3 separate regions of the Homo sapiens genome follow, and regions 1 and 3 are each linked to region 2. Evidence: promoter capture Hi-C in 16 types of primary human blood cells and fetal thymus (Javierre and others, 2016). All regions are on one chromosome and are shown on one strand. Each heading gives the region's core, a stretch centred on a gene start or on the middle of the fragment in contact. The rest is flanking DNA. Distances are from core to core; before and after follow the strand shown.

Region 1 (4,684 bases), core at 22-2,521, 2.2 Mb after region 2:
AGTCCTGCTTTATGCAGTCAGTTGGAGAACTGGCTTTTAAAAATATTATTATTATTATTTTTGAGACAGAGTCTTACTGTGTCACCCAGGCTGGAGTGCAATGGCATGATCTTGGCTCACTGCAACCTCTGCCCCCCGGGTTCAAGCGATTCTCCTGCCTCAGCTTCCTGAGTAGCTGGGCTTAAGGCATGTGCCACCATGCCCAGCTATTTTTTGTGTTTTTAGTAGAGACAAGCTTTCACCATGTTGGCCAAGCTGGTCTTGAACTGCTGACTTCAAGTTATCTGCCGGCCTCAGCCTCCTAAAGTGCTGGGATTATAGGCATGAGCCACTGTGCCTGGCAAAACAAAAAATATAAATTTTTTAAAAACTGTATCTTTTTGAATAGACAATGCATTTACATGATTAAAGCTCCATATATTTAATATATACAAAAGTATATATAGTGGAATGTCTCCTTTCTGCTGAGGGCAGATTTAAAAAGTAACCTATGGCATCAGAGATCCTCATTGGCATATATCCCTTCTAAGGCTCTGTATCTAATTTTGTATTTTTTTGGTAAAAGTGCTCCCCCCAAATTGTATGAGCTTCAGCACACCCAAAACTTGATTCTGCTCTTCTTCCATTCTTAACTCCCGCATCCCATTCCCTTCCCAGCAGGCAGCCAATGTCATCCATTTCTTTTTTTAAAAAATTGTTTATTTTTAATTGACTTATAATAATCATGGATATAATTATTATATTTCAATTACATAATCAATTTCTTGCATATTTTTCTGGATATATTCTATGCACATTTAAGTAAAAACATTTATTTATCTTCCCTTTCATACAGATGGCAGTGTGCTATATACACTGTTCTGCACTTTTTGCATTTGTCTTGGAGTAAATTCATCTCTTTAAATTTTGTTTTTTCCATCTGTAATATGGAAATAATTGTACCTATCCCATAGACTTCCTGTTAGGATTACCTGAGATCATGTAAAGCACTTAGCTCATTGCCTGGAATACATTAAGTAATCAATAAATGTAAGTTATTATTCTATTAATGTTTAAAATATACTACAAAGCTACAATAATAAAACTAGTGTGATATTGATAACATATTAGCAGACTGATGAAACAAAGTAAGAAGCCTCTTCAACTTGGTCTTTATGATTTGTGTGCAAGATACTGTTGCCAACAGATGAAATACAAACACTAAAAAGAAAGTTTGTCTCAAGGAACTTAAAGACTAGGAGAAGAGAGAATACCTGTGTGGAAAATATAATAAAAAAAGAATTGTGGATAAGATCAGTGCAGTGGTGTGTGCCTGTAGTCCCAGCTGCTTAGGAGGCTGAGTCAAGAGGGTTGCTTGAGCCCAGGAATTCAAGGCCTTAGTGGGCTATGATTATGCCTGTGAATAGACACTGTGCTCTAGCCTGGGAAACATAGTGAGACTCCGTCTCTAAAAAGAAATCAATCAATCAATCACAGATAAATGGCCTTGGGGGTTTAGTGAGGAGCTCTGATGATGGAGACACAGGGAATACAGAATCAGGAAGGTTAAGCGGATGAAGTGGTGTCTGAACTGGCTAAGTAGAAATTTGGAATCCAGCAATAATAGGAAGATGGTGGTTATGGCAAGGATGATCCAATCTGATGGAAGCACAAATGCTGAGAAAAATCTAGTTAACCAAAATAATGTGTAAAAGAGTTTATTCTTTAACATAGAGTTATAGATTGGCAGGATGTTTTCCTATATGACACGATCTCTGGGGTCCTTTCTACAAGTCTGAACAAGTAAAAGAGAGCCAGAAGTCCCTTGGCGGGGGATAAGATGTGCATTTTGATTGAATTTGGCATCTCAATCTAACTCCTAACTGCATTAAAGGGGGAAAACATTATCAATATTAACAAAACTGATCCCTCATGAACAGACTCAAAGTCTAAATCTTTAGCTAGCACTTTATCAATAACATGTTCTAATTACATGTGAGGCTTTGAAAATATACCTCTGTGTGATAATTGCTGGAAAGCAGATTTTAATCCCAGGAACTTATAAATTGCAGTTGTAAAGATGCAATAGAGAGCTTATCCATTGACACTATCTAGTGTCATTTGCTTGCAACTGCAGATATTGACAGGACGCTGCTTGGAACAATGGGTGCCCTGTCCCCCTCTATGACCACCACCCCAGTTGATCAAGTGTATAAGTGACAGTTTATATGCAAAATGGTCCAAAGGCTACCTGATCACCCCCCAAGGCCACATGGGGCTTTGAGGAAACTGAATGCAAAGCCACGTGTTAGATAAAATAAAGCTTATATCTTCATCCCAGAAATTAAAAAGCCCCCTGGCAAAGTCAGCTTCCAGAAAAGCTGAGGCCTGAAAGAAGAACCAGTCCCCCAAAGCTCTATCATTGGATTGAATTGTTTCAGACCTGAGGAGGAGGGAGCTCCTGAAGCTGGGCCCACCCTGGGACATGGAGGGTGGGCTTCTTCTGCCATCTGCCACCTCTTTATTCCAATGCCTTCTCCTCTCAGTCTAGATTTCCCTGGGCCCCCAGTCCTCGCCCAACTAGTGTGTGCTGTTTGTGTGATCAGCAAATCATTTAGGGAAAAGCCTTTTAATTAAGAGGAGAGCAACAAATTATTAAGTCAGAGTCATTTATTACCCTGCCATCTGGCCAGACTTCCTTCTGGCCCCCCTTCTTCCTCAACCAAGCCTGCACAGACATATAAAGTAACAAAGAGAATGGAAAAAGAGGAGACTTCTTTCTGCCTGGACTTGGAAAGAACTGTCCAGCTCCTCCTGGAAGCAGGGTAAGGGTTCTAGGAGGACTTTTCCACACCCTTTGTATACTGTAGTAGCCAAGTCTTGGTTTTCCTCTCCTGTAGAACAGGGATGATGAGGTCTACCTTAGGGCTTCTGGATGCCTGGCCCAATGGCTGGTATAGTGGAGGCACTCAGGAAACAGAAGCTGAATCTGAAGCCTGCAAATTGGAAGCTTTGTTATGGATGGTGGCGTCAGCAGTAGTGGAGACAGTGATGGCTGGAGGGAGCCTACTAAATGTTTCCATCCTGCAAGCTCAGCTGGCTCTCCCTCTGTTGTGACCCACAGAGGTATTCCCTTGCTGTCTCCCTGCAAATGCCAGGGAAGCTCAGGAAATTCATGCCCACCCCTTGCTCCCGTCCCCAACCAAACCTAAATGCTGGGACATTATTCTAAGAGAAAGACAGCTGGAGACCACAGTATCTGGTTCAGGCATGATGAGAAGGACTGAGCAACACTTAGAGTAGGAAGAAGCTAAGGAATCACACATAGGGGTGTATTTCAATAGCCAACAACTCAGAGAGGACTATGCGGGATACATGATAAGACAGGCACTATTTCCTAAAAGCAAAACACCACAGTTATGACAGCTATGAATGAAAACTAATACAGGCATATTGGAGACTCAATTACCATGAGTGGTGTGGCAGTCAATGATGTGATTTTCCAAAAGAGTGAGCAAATCTGGTAAAGAAATTAACAACACAAACTCTAATCTTCCCTTAATTTACAGAGTAGTTTCATTCTTAGCATACAGTTAGTGCATATTAAAAATCATTTTTAAAAAGTCTCTCTGTTTACATATAAAATTGTTACTTTTTAAAGCTCAGATAGTTATAAGCAAGTTATAAACAACTCTGTAAATATCTAGTAGAACATTTGAAAATTGTGTGGAGCATAGGGTAAGTATATATGAGATGGTGAGATTGTCTCACAGATAGTAAAAGATTGAGCTGCCTGGGGTCCCAGCCTCTACTTGCCAGAAGTAAGCCCCTTACCCATCATTGGGGCAACCAAAAACACTCCACACTTTTTCAAAATGCTCCCTCGTGGGTGATCCTGTGCTAGACTAAAAATTGAAATGTGAATCAAACTAAATTAATGTTTAAAAAAACCTTACTTCGACACAATCAAGAAATTTTGAATTTGAATGGATACATGATGATTTGAAAGAATTTTTGTTTTGTTAGATATGATAATTGTCTTAGTCCATTTGTATTGCTGTAACAGACTACCACAGACTAGGTAATTTGTAAACCATAGAAATTTATCTGGCTCAGGGATCTGGAGGCTGGGAAGTCCAACATGGAGGAGATGCATCTGGCGAGGGCCTTCTTGCTGTGTCGTAACCTGGCAGAGGGCATCACATGGTGAGAAACCTCTCCAGAGCAAGACAGCAAGAGGGGGCTGGATTGCTTTTATAACTATCCCACCCTGGAGACAACTAACCACTTCTGCAATAATGATTTTAATCCATTCTTGAGGGCAGAGCCTCCTGATCTAATCACCTCTTATTAGGCCGTGCCTCCCAACACTTTTGCCTTGGTGAGTAAGTTTCCAAAACACCAACTTTGGGGGACACATTCAAATCATAGCAATAATGAAATGGTTTTACATAAAAACACATTCAAACATGCATATACTCATATCAAAAAATCAGGCTCACAATAAAATTTCAGTAGTGACCATGTGAGTACAATATATCTTTGCATTTTATAGAAAGTATATCTTGGGGTGGCTACTCAGCTCCCAAAGACTCACTCATCTTGTGGAACTTCTTTAATACAATACTCAAGGGGACCTTAGTAGTGGAGTTTGTGTCCCTTACTCCCCTGTCTGTAGGTGATGAGTCTATGTGGGGCTGGAGCA
Region 2 (4,533 bases), core at 1,318-3,817:
AGCTGCTACGAGGTCCAAACATCCTAAGTGAAAGTGCATCTAAAAGTTCAAATTTTAAAATTAATGTAAGGCACTGAAAACGTGAAGAAACATGTATTGAGTACTTATTATAAGTAATGTACCACAGCTTTAATGGTTGTTTAAAAGATGCATTAGGGAGCAATTGAAAATAAAAGGAATAGCTACAGAGTTTGGGAAGGCACAGGGAAAAGAGTGGCTCAGTATCGAAGATAAAATTCGGGAGAAGACACAATCAGATTTTGAGAGATGGACAAGTCAACCTTAGAATAATTTCCCTTATTTAACCTGTCTTTCCCCTAATAGCAGCACACTCATCTTTCAACTTGCTTTTCCCCACGTTACATATATAATTTGGGAGAAGGAACAAAAAAGCTAGGGGAATTGCAATGACCTAATTGAGATATAAAAGATACTCTCTACATTGAATAGTTACAAACACTTAGAAACAGTATGAAAGGAGGCAGAGATACCAACAGCACTGGAACTGACAATGGAGATCAAATCTCAAAAAGCAGTTTTCTATAGCTTAGTCATACTTGGCTCAATTTTTCACTTTTTGTACTTAAACGTATGGCAATTTTTGGTGCTTTATTTAGTAATTACGTCATTTTGCCTGATAATACAATTTCAGTACATTACTTTCCTTAAATCATTTCCCTTTGGTTAAACAGAAAAAGCAGAATTGGTCTTCAGGCAGGTATGCTCAAATCAAATGATCTCCTTTCCCCATCATGGCAATGTTCTTTCAGTGGTCACCTTCCCTTCAATATTCTTTCATGCAGCAAAGTATCTGAGTCTTTAATCTTGTACTAGGAACTGTCCTGGCACCGGGGAAACCACGTCAACAGGGCTCACATGATCCCTGTCCCTGCCCTCAAGGAGACAGACAACAAATAAACGAATACAATAATTACACGGGGATCAGGGCTGTAAAGGGTACTCTACTAAAGTTAGAGGCTGCGGAACTAATTTGAAGAGGATAGTCAGGGAAGGCCACTCTGAGACCGATTTAGGCAGAGACCTGAAGAAAGATGGATTTGGATAAACAGTTTAAGGAGAGGAAGGAGAGTTCAAGGAAGAGGTACCAATTACACTCATGCTGTGTATGTAAAGGAGGAGGGATAAGAAGAACATTCACTCCAGGCATAGAGACCACAAAGTGCATCTTGGAGAAAAATAAGCGCGTTGCAGAGGGTTAGGTGGCCAGAGTAGCTGAAGCTTTAGGAGCAAGAGACATAAAACGAGATTATAAACGTGGGTTAAGTACCACATCATACAGGGCCGTGCAGGCTATGGCAAGGAGTCTAGATTTTATTTAAATGCCAAGAGAAGTAGGATTACTTCGGATAGCTGAATTACACTATCTTTCTTTTTTGTTAAAAGATCACGCGGGTAAAACGAGATGTGTCGAGGAAAAGTTTTAAATGCAGAGAACCTAAGTCAGATGCAAAAATTATGCACTTTTCCGGGCCTCAGGTTTTCCATAAATAAAGCAAGTGGTTTGAACTAGAAGCCATTTCCTTCCCGCTGCGACGTGGTGAGTTCTAAGAGCAGGGGCCGCGTCAGATTGACCATGGAATTCCCCTCATCGACGCCGGCGCCCAGAACACAACTGGCGCCCTGAAACTGTTGGTCAGCGCAATAAATCAATGAATGGCCTGCTACGGGCGTGGGACCAGGCCCCGGCGCCCGCAAAGAACGCGATGGGTCGCGCTGAAGGCCGCGAGAGGCGTCCGGCAAGGAAATAGGGGCCGGCTCCACCACAACCAAAGCGTGCCGAGGAGGGGAACCGGGGCCTTGGAGATTGAGGGCAGAAAAAAATCAGACTAGGGACCCGACACCGGGAATTAGGAGAGAAGGCCGAAACGTGGGTCTGAGAAAGGATTCTGGTTCCAAGCCTGGGGGCCCAGCCACTCACCGCAGCCGTCGCCAGGCTGTGCATGTTGTGAGCGGCCGCCGCTCTCTTCCACAGCCGGACGCGTCCGACCCGCGTCCCCCCTTCAGCACCCCTGCAGCGGAAAACAATGAGCCGCCGTAGCCGCCATCCGACTCCGGCTCGCTCCGCCCACTTCGCGGCCCTCTGACCTCTCACCCCTGACCCCACCCACACATCCTCTTCCCGCCTCCAGGGCCTAGTTAACAGTCCCAGAGTATGTCCTTTGCCCCTTAAGATTTAGGACCGGAAGGACGTCCGCGACCACTAGTCCCCGCAACTTCTGGCTTTGAGCAGTTATTTCCAGAGAGCGGCGTGAACTCTGACCCTCCTCCAAAAGCCAGTGAACGGCGGGAAAAGATGGACAGTCCCGGCAAGACAACTATTGCGCATGCCCGACTGGGTTGCGTAGGAGGGAAATGGTGGGGGGGCGTCGAAATCGGGTGAGGTGGAAAGTGCGCGTGCCTACTACAGTCACGGCAGGGGCGGGGCTGCCCGGGCTAGGCCGCTCTAGGTACTGGCGGGGCGGGGCGAGGGCGTGTGAGGGGCGGAGTTTTCGACTGACGCGCACGCGCCTGTCTGGTCGCGTCGAGTGTGCGTGCGTGCGTGCGTGTTTGCGTGTGGTCACAGTTCCCGCCATCAGCCGCTCTCCCTGACTAGGGGTAGCTAGCGGCCTCCCTCCTTTGGGTTCGGTATCCCTACTTCCATTACCCTCGGCTCCTCCCACTCCTCGCGGGCTCCGTGCTTTCCGCGGGTCTGTCCGGGGGCTCCGGACCCTCGGCGCAGGTAAGGCGGGCCGGGGTAGCTTCTCAATTGAGCCGTTTTCCCTACCTCCTCCTCCTTCTGTGCGATCCGCCCACTCGGCGTTCACTCCTCTGGAGTTCGCCCTGCTGCTACTCAGCCCGCCCACAACCCCTCGATGCACCCCCAGCCTCACAGGTACTACCTTTGGGTGCACTGCCCCGGCTTCCACCTCTCCTTTGACTTGGTCTCCACTGCCACTCGCTCCCTCCGAAACTCAAACCTGGCCCCTTTTCTCTGGGGCTGTTGTCGTTCGCCTCTTACCTTCTAACAGGGCCTGCTGTCTCTTCAGGTGACTTTCGTTACGGCACATCCACCAGGCCTTGGACATGATACTCATTCACTCTCTTGACCATCTTCACCTTCCTCTTGACCAGTCCTCACTGCAAAACATGAATTGTATTTTTGTTGTGCATTTCCTTGCGCCCATTTCTAGCCGCCAGATCAGGTTGTTAGATGTAACTATTTTAAGTCATGATCCATGAAAGGAAATGATGATTGATGATAAAATCCTGTGTCCTGAAGAGTTGTCCTAAAGTGGTTTTGGGGTATTCCTCTCAAAATTTCAGCTCTGTATAAATTCCTTTATTGAGGTGGCAATTCCTGACAAGTGTCTAACTGGAAGAGATACCTGAGAGGGAATGTCAAGTAGGCAGTTGGATATAGTGGGTTTGGAGATCTTAGGAGAGTTCTGGGCTGCGTACGTAAATGTGCGCGGTGTGTGTATGTGTTTGTCATCTGCCATATTGATAGTAATTGAAGCCATGGATGTGGATGAAATTGCCGAAAAAGAGTATAGTGCTGTAAAATAAAGGCACCTAGGATGGAGCATTGACGAATTCCTGCTGTTTAATAACCAATAGAGGAGGATGCGTCTTGCAAGCCATGAAAAAAGTCATCAGTAGTGTTGCATTCTGCTGAAAGGTAAAATGGAAGGAGGACTGAAAAACCCAGTGATATAAAAGTACTCACTTGTCTTAAAGATGTTTGATGAAGTAAAATGAGTATTTGGGTTCAGTCCTAGGTCCTCTTCTTTTACTCTTATATTCCTCCCTAAGCTTTAAATTTGATCTATATATTGATGACTTAAAAATTGTTATTTCCAGCCTATTCCCTTTGTTTTCAGCTCCACATCTAGATAGCCAGCTGTCTGCTTGACATCTCAACTTGATTTTTTTCTTAGGAGTTTCAGATGCAACACAGCCAAATCCAAAGCCTTGATCTTTCTCTCCATATCGAAATTCTTTCTTCTCCAGTGTCCCAGTTTATTAAGTGGCACATGACACAGGCTACACACTTGGGAGGCATTCTTGACTTCTACTCTCTCCAAGTTCTATCCTACTTCCAATACGTGTCTTGCATCTTTTTCTGTACATTTTCACTGTCACTTTTCTAGTTTAAGCCACAGTCCTTAAAAAACCTGGACTTGATTGCCTTGGCTTCCTGTATTATCATCTGTAAAATGGAAATAGTAATTTTCAGCCTATTGGATTGTTATGAGGATTAAGTGAGATAACCATGATAAGCACTTGGCACAGAGTAAATGGCCAGTAAGCATTAATTGTTATTGTTATAAGCTGATCAACTCAATACTCTTCTATCTGGTTACATTATTTTCTTCTGTTCTTGCTCTTAGTCACTCTCCCAAAACCCAAACCAACCATATATGACTTCCTCATTCAGTAGTAACATATTTCTTTGCTTAAAACCTTTTGGTGGATTTCCTCCTGGTAAGTGCTTGTTACATTTAGGATAAAATTCGGAATCTTTACTGTGGT
Region 3 (4,797 bases), core at 566-3,065, 2.1 Mb after region 2:
TGAGACCAGGAGTTCTAGGCAGCCTGGACAATATAGCGAGACCCCATCTCCACACACACAAAAAAATAATAGGCCAGGTATGGTGACACACATCTGTGGTTCTAGCTGCTCAAAAGGCTGAAACGTGAGGATTGCTTGAGCCCAGGAGTTCAGAGGTTACAGTGAGCTATGATCACACCATTTCACTCCAACCTGGACAACAGAGTGAGATCCTTTCTCAAAACAAAAACAAAAAAAGAAAGAAAAAAGAAACTCATCTCAGGGAAGTTAAGAAACTTGCTCAATGTCACACAGCAATTAGAACTCAAATCTGGTCTGTCTGATCCCAAAGTTAGTTCTCCTAATTGCTAGCTTGTACTACGCCAAATCATAATATTTAGTGCACTGAAAAAGCACATCAGAAAACATAGTTGAATTAAAATCAGGTCCCTGGCACTCAGTCTGGGCCAGGATCTGTAACTACCTTGTGGTTTGACTTTAGGTAAGCCACAGTCCCCACATGGAGAACCACCTCCCCACCTCCCAGCAGCCACCATCTTTATTTACAAGGAGCTGGACCAGGTGGTCTTCAAGGTCCTGTCCAGTTCTTCCCTCCTATGATTCCAGGAAGAGCTTCCAGACTTTGAGTGCCACTGGGGCAGTGACCCACCATGTGCTTTATGTCAGCACATCTTGCACAATTTTGTGGAATAAAGGTAGTTGTCTCTTTATCCTCCCCAATCTGTTATTCCAGCTCTGGCTGTGTAAATTCAAGGAGGAGAAAAAGCAAAAAGTAGTGGATAGTGGGAATAGTCAAATTGATTTTTGCATACATTTTTTGCATTTTCTAATTATCTTTTATAATGAGCATGTGTTTCTTTTATAATCTAAAAAAACTACCATTAAAAAAAAAACCCCAAACATCTCCAGTAACGACGAGTATACCTACTGCCCCAGATCTCAGGGTTTGTTTTTATTTGTTTTGTTTTGTTTTGAGACAGGGTCTTGCTCTGTTCCCCAGGCTGGTGTGCAGTGGTGTGATCACAGCTCACTATAGCCTTGACCTCCCCAGGCTCAAGCAGTCCTTTCACCACAGTCTCCTGAGTAGTGCCCAAATAATTTTTTTATTTTTGTAGAGACAGTCTTGCCATGTTGCCCAGGCTGGTCTGGAACTCCTGGGTTCAAGCAATCCTCCAGCCTCAGTCTTCCAGAGTGCTGGCATTTCAGGCATGAGCCACCATGCCCAGACCCCAGATCTTGGTTTATAATATCATTCTTTAATAAAAGGAACCAGGGCCCCTTAGAGAAGTGACTCATTCTAGGACTGCAGCAGGAAATATACAAGGCGAGCCTGCAGTATCTTGTGCCAGAAAGTAAGGAAATGTTCAGAAAACCCTACACTGATGGGGATATGTCAGAGAGACACAGGAGTCAACTGAAAGAACTCCGAATGGCCAAAGCTAGAAAATTTTGAGCAATAAATAAGGTAGTATTGATTTAACCCAAGTGTAAAATAAATATCCATGGGTCCATGTGGATATAAATAAATGATAGACTAAATAAATGAAAGACAAGAGGCAACTCTCTTTTGCAGAAGAATTTATTTTTTCTTTTTTTGAGACCGAGTCTTGCTCTGTCGCCCAGGCTGGAGTGCAGTGGTATGATCTGGGCGCACTGCAACCTCTGCCTCCTGGGTTCAAGCAAGTCTCCTGCCTCAGCCTGCTGAGCAGCTGGGACTACAGGCATGCACCACCACACCCAGCTAATTTTTGTATTTTTAGTAGAGACGGGGCTTCACCATAACGGCCAGGCTGGTCTTGAACTCCTGACCTCGTGATCCACCCTCCTCGACCTCCCAAAGTGCTGGGATTACAGGTGTGAGCCACTGCACCCGGCCAAGAAGAATTTCAAATAATTTATGTGGATATTCTGCTCTCAAGGAGGGTGAGCATAACTCCCCACTCCCTAAGTGTGGGCTGCACAGAATGACTTCCTTCCAAAGAGCACAGTATAGAAAGGGGAAAAAAGAGTAACTTTATAGCCAACACGACCTCAGCCAAGGTGATGAAGGTCAACATCAACAGTGATAATCTTGTTACTATGTCCCCTTGATGTGGAATGAAAATGGCACTTTGCCTCTGTGATCTTTCTCCCAAAACCCATAACCTCAGTCTAATCATGAGAACAATAGACAAATTCCAAAAGAGGGACATCCTTCAATATACCTGACCAGGGCTCCTTAAAACTGTCAAACCAGGAAAGCCTGAGTAACTGTCACAGCCAAGAGGAGCGTAAGGTGACATGATGACTAAATGTAACATGAAATCTTAGAACAAAAAAAAGACAATACGTTAAAAACTAGGAAGATCCGAATAAACTACAGACTTTAGGTCATAATAATGTATTAATCTTGCTTTATGAATTGTAACCAATTTACCATACTAATGTTAAGATGTTGCCGGGCGCGGTGGGTCACGCCTGTAATCCCAGCACTTTGAGAAGCTGAGGCAGGCAGATCTCGAGGTCAGGAGATTGAGACCATCCTGGCTAACACAGTGAAACCCTATCTCTACTAAAAATACAAAAAATTAGCCAGGCATGGTGGCACATGCCTATAATCCCAGCTACTCGGGAGGCTGAGGCAGGAGAATTGCTTGAACCTGGGAGGTGGAGGTGGAGTGAGTTGAGATCGTGCCACTGCACTCCAGCCTGGGCGACAGAGCAAGACTTCATCTCAAAAAAAAAAAAAAAAAAAAAAAAGTTAACAATAGAGAAAATTGGGTAAGGGTATACAAAAATACTCTCTCCTCAATTTTTTTATATAACTATAAAACTGTTCTACAAAATAAAGTCTATTTTAAAACAACCACCACCACCACCCAAGGAGGTCACCACAAGTCAATTCCATGAGGACAGGGCTTGTGTTGTTCACCTCTGCATCCCAGGACCTATACAAGAGCCTGACGTGTCAGCAGTAATGTCTGTTGAATGGGGGATTGTTACCTTGCATGGTATAATGGTGATGGGTATATGAAGCGTTTCATGTGTTTGGGTTTCTCTGCTTTGTAAAGTCAGTCCAGTTATGTCAGAACTGAAAAAGGCTTTAGAGATAATGTAGCCCAAACTGGAAACTGAGGCCCGGGGGGTCAAATGACTTGCCCAAGGTCACATAGCCATTAAGTGACACATAAACGTGTGTTCGCTCCACTGTATCACATGATTCAAGTCTCTAAGTCTCTTTCCGCAGCTGCAAAATGAGTATACTGTACAATAAAGGGTCTCAGGAAGATAAAATAACTTCCATGAAGTGTCTAGTGAACATTTTAAAATAGTGGCCAGTATGTTTGTTGAGATGCTGCTGCTGCTGCTGCTGCTACCTGATTTCAACATCTCTTTCTGCCTTTTCAATCCTCTCTCCTCTTCTGCCATACTCAAGGAAGTACAGAAGATCTGCCTTCTTCTTTCCCTTAAAAATATGCCCATCTCTTTTCTCCTTAATTTCTTTAGCTTGGACACAATGAAACCACTACAGTCATGGTAACTGATGCCGCTTGAGGCCCACAAAGGGAGTGAGATGTGCCCAAGATGTTTCTCTTCCACCACAGGCCTCATGCACCCTCTGCCCCCATAGGTTAGGGTGGAAGATGGCAAGGGGCCAAGGGAACAAGTCCCTCTTCCCTCAGAAGGGAAATGCACTGCATTTCAGGGATGTTATCTGGAAAGCTCTCCACCCAAGCAATGCCTGCCTCCAGAAAACTATAAATTAAAACAAAAATATATCCATGTTGATACAAACAAAGGAGACTAGTGGAAGGAGTCTTAAACAAATGCTCACCATGATCCTCCCTTTTCAGACTGTGCCTCTTGGCCACACAGGATGGTGCTCAATTGAGCTGGGGAGTGGGTGAGTCAGCTTCATGCTGGGGCAGTCCAGGCAGAGCTGAGGTGAGCCATCCTGGGCTGGCACTAGAGCCTAATTCAGATCATCATTTAGCAAATGTGCTGCCTCCCCCACGCCCTCCGCTGCAGAGCCTCCTACGTCTCTGGCCTTCAGGGGGGTCTGAGAGAGAGAGCAAGAGAAGAGGGAATGCATGAGTAGGAATGCAGTAAGCGGCTGAAAATGAGACACTCCATAATAGGAGGAAATTGTTCATGTTCAGAGCAATTTTGTCAAAACTGAACAATTATCTTTAAATAGCAAGCTTGAGGATGTACAAATAGCACTCATGAAATCAGCTCTGAGTGACTTCAGAGAATCGGCCCTCTCCTAAAGTCTCAATTTGTCTTTTCTGTGGGCTCATAAATTTCCATCCCTATTAGAGTACCATCCGGTGTGGAGAATGTTAACTATAATGTGTCCCCATAAAAGACTCAGTAAAAATCACTGCTGGCTCACCTCTGCTCTTAAGGAGCCCTCAACATTCACTCTTTGCCTTTAGAAAAATAAATAAGTTAAAAGTCACCTCCAGAGAGGAGTTCTTGTAGCTGTTAACCAGTTCTCTTGGGGCATATGGAACATTTTATTCTTGAAAGAAATCTGAGGTGCAAGCATCATTCCAAATTCATCTTGTGCTGGAGACAGAAAGGGTTTATTGGGGCGTGGTTCCTTCACTTCATGCCTCAAGAGAGCCTGCTCTCCACAAAGCCCCTGGGGGCCACAGACAAGAGTGGGGCCTGCACAGCATTGTTGAGAGTCCCGTGAGGCCAGAGCCACAGGCAAGAGCTGACCCAGCAGGAAAGGTGAGGCCCTCCAAGGCAGTCCTGGATGCCCCGAAAGAATAAGAGTGTGGGAAATTGACTCAGGCAACCCCTCTTTCC

Evidence for each region. The method cuts DNA at HindIII sites, captures the fragments that hold promoters and counts their contacts. A CHiCAGO score of 5 or more calls a contact.
Region 1: a contact is called between a fragment that was not itself captured here and the fragment with the promoter of USP37 in region 2, in 1 of 17 cell types (neutrophils). The highest score is 5.9, in neutrophils.
Region 3: a fragment that was not itself captured here is called in contact with the fragment with the promoter of USP37 in region 2 in 1 of 17 cell types (total B cells); the score reaches 5.1 in total B cells.

The regions. Positions count from the first base shown.
Region 1 is chr2:216,397,699-216,402,382 of GRCh38, reverse strand. All of the region lies in intron 1 of SMARCAL1-AS1 (SMARCAL1 antisense RNA 1), which reads left to right. It overlaps LOC107985984 (a long non-coding RNA gene), which reads right to left. Exons shown (of 3, transcript XR_001739880.2): 3 at 2,635-2,975. Among named protein-coding and RNA genes, the nearest start is that of SMARCAL1, 12 kb to the left of the region's middle. The HindIII fragment of the contact is 2,067 bases long and covers 238-2,304 here.
Region 2 is chr2:218,566,385-218,570,917 of GRCh38, reverse strand. It overlaps USP37 (ubiquitin specific peptidase 37), which reads left to right and starts at 2,567. Exons shown (of 26, transcript NM_020935.3): 1 at 2,567-2,740. CNOT9 (CCR4-NOT transcription complex subunit 9) reads right to left here and starts at 2,079. Exons shown (of 8, transcript NM_005444.3): 1 at 1,940-2,079. The coding sequence starts at 1,963. RefSeq lists enhancers at 1,485-1,674, 1,469-2,096, 2,097-2,724 and silencers at 2,385-2,444, 2,535-2,604. The HindIII fragment of the contact is 2,574 bases long and covers 1,242-3,815 here.
Region 3 is chr2:216,492,317-216,497,113 of GRCh38, reverse strand. All of the region lies in intron 1 of RPL37A-DT (RPL37A divergent transcript), which reads left to right. Among named protein-coding and RNA genes, the nearest start is that of RPL37A-DT, 4.0 kb to the left of the region's middle. RefSeq lists a silencer at 956-1,025 and an enhancer at 4,488-4,547. The HindIII fragment of the contact is 4,737 bases long and covers 1-4,183 here.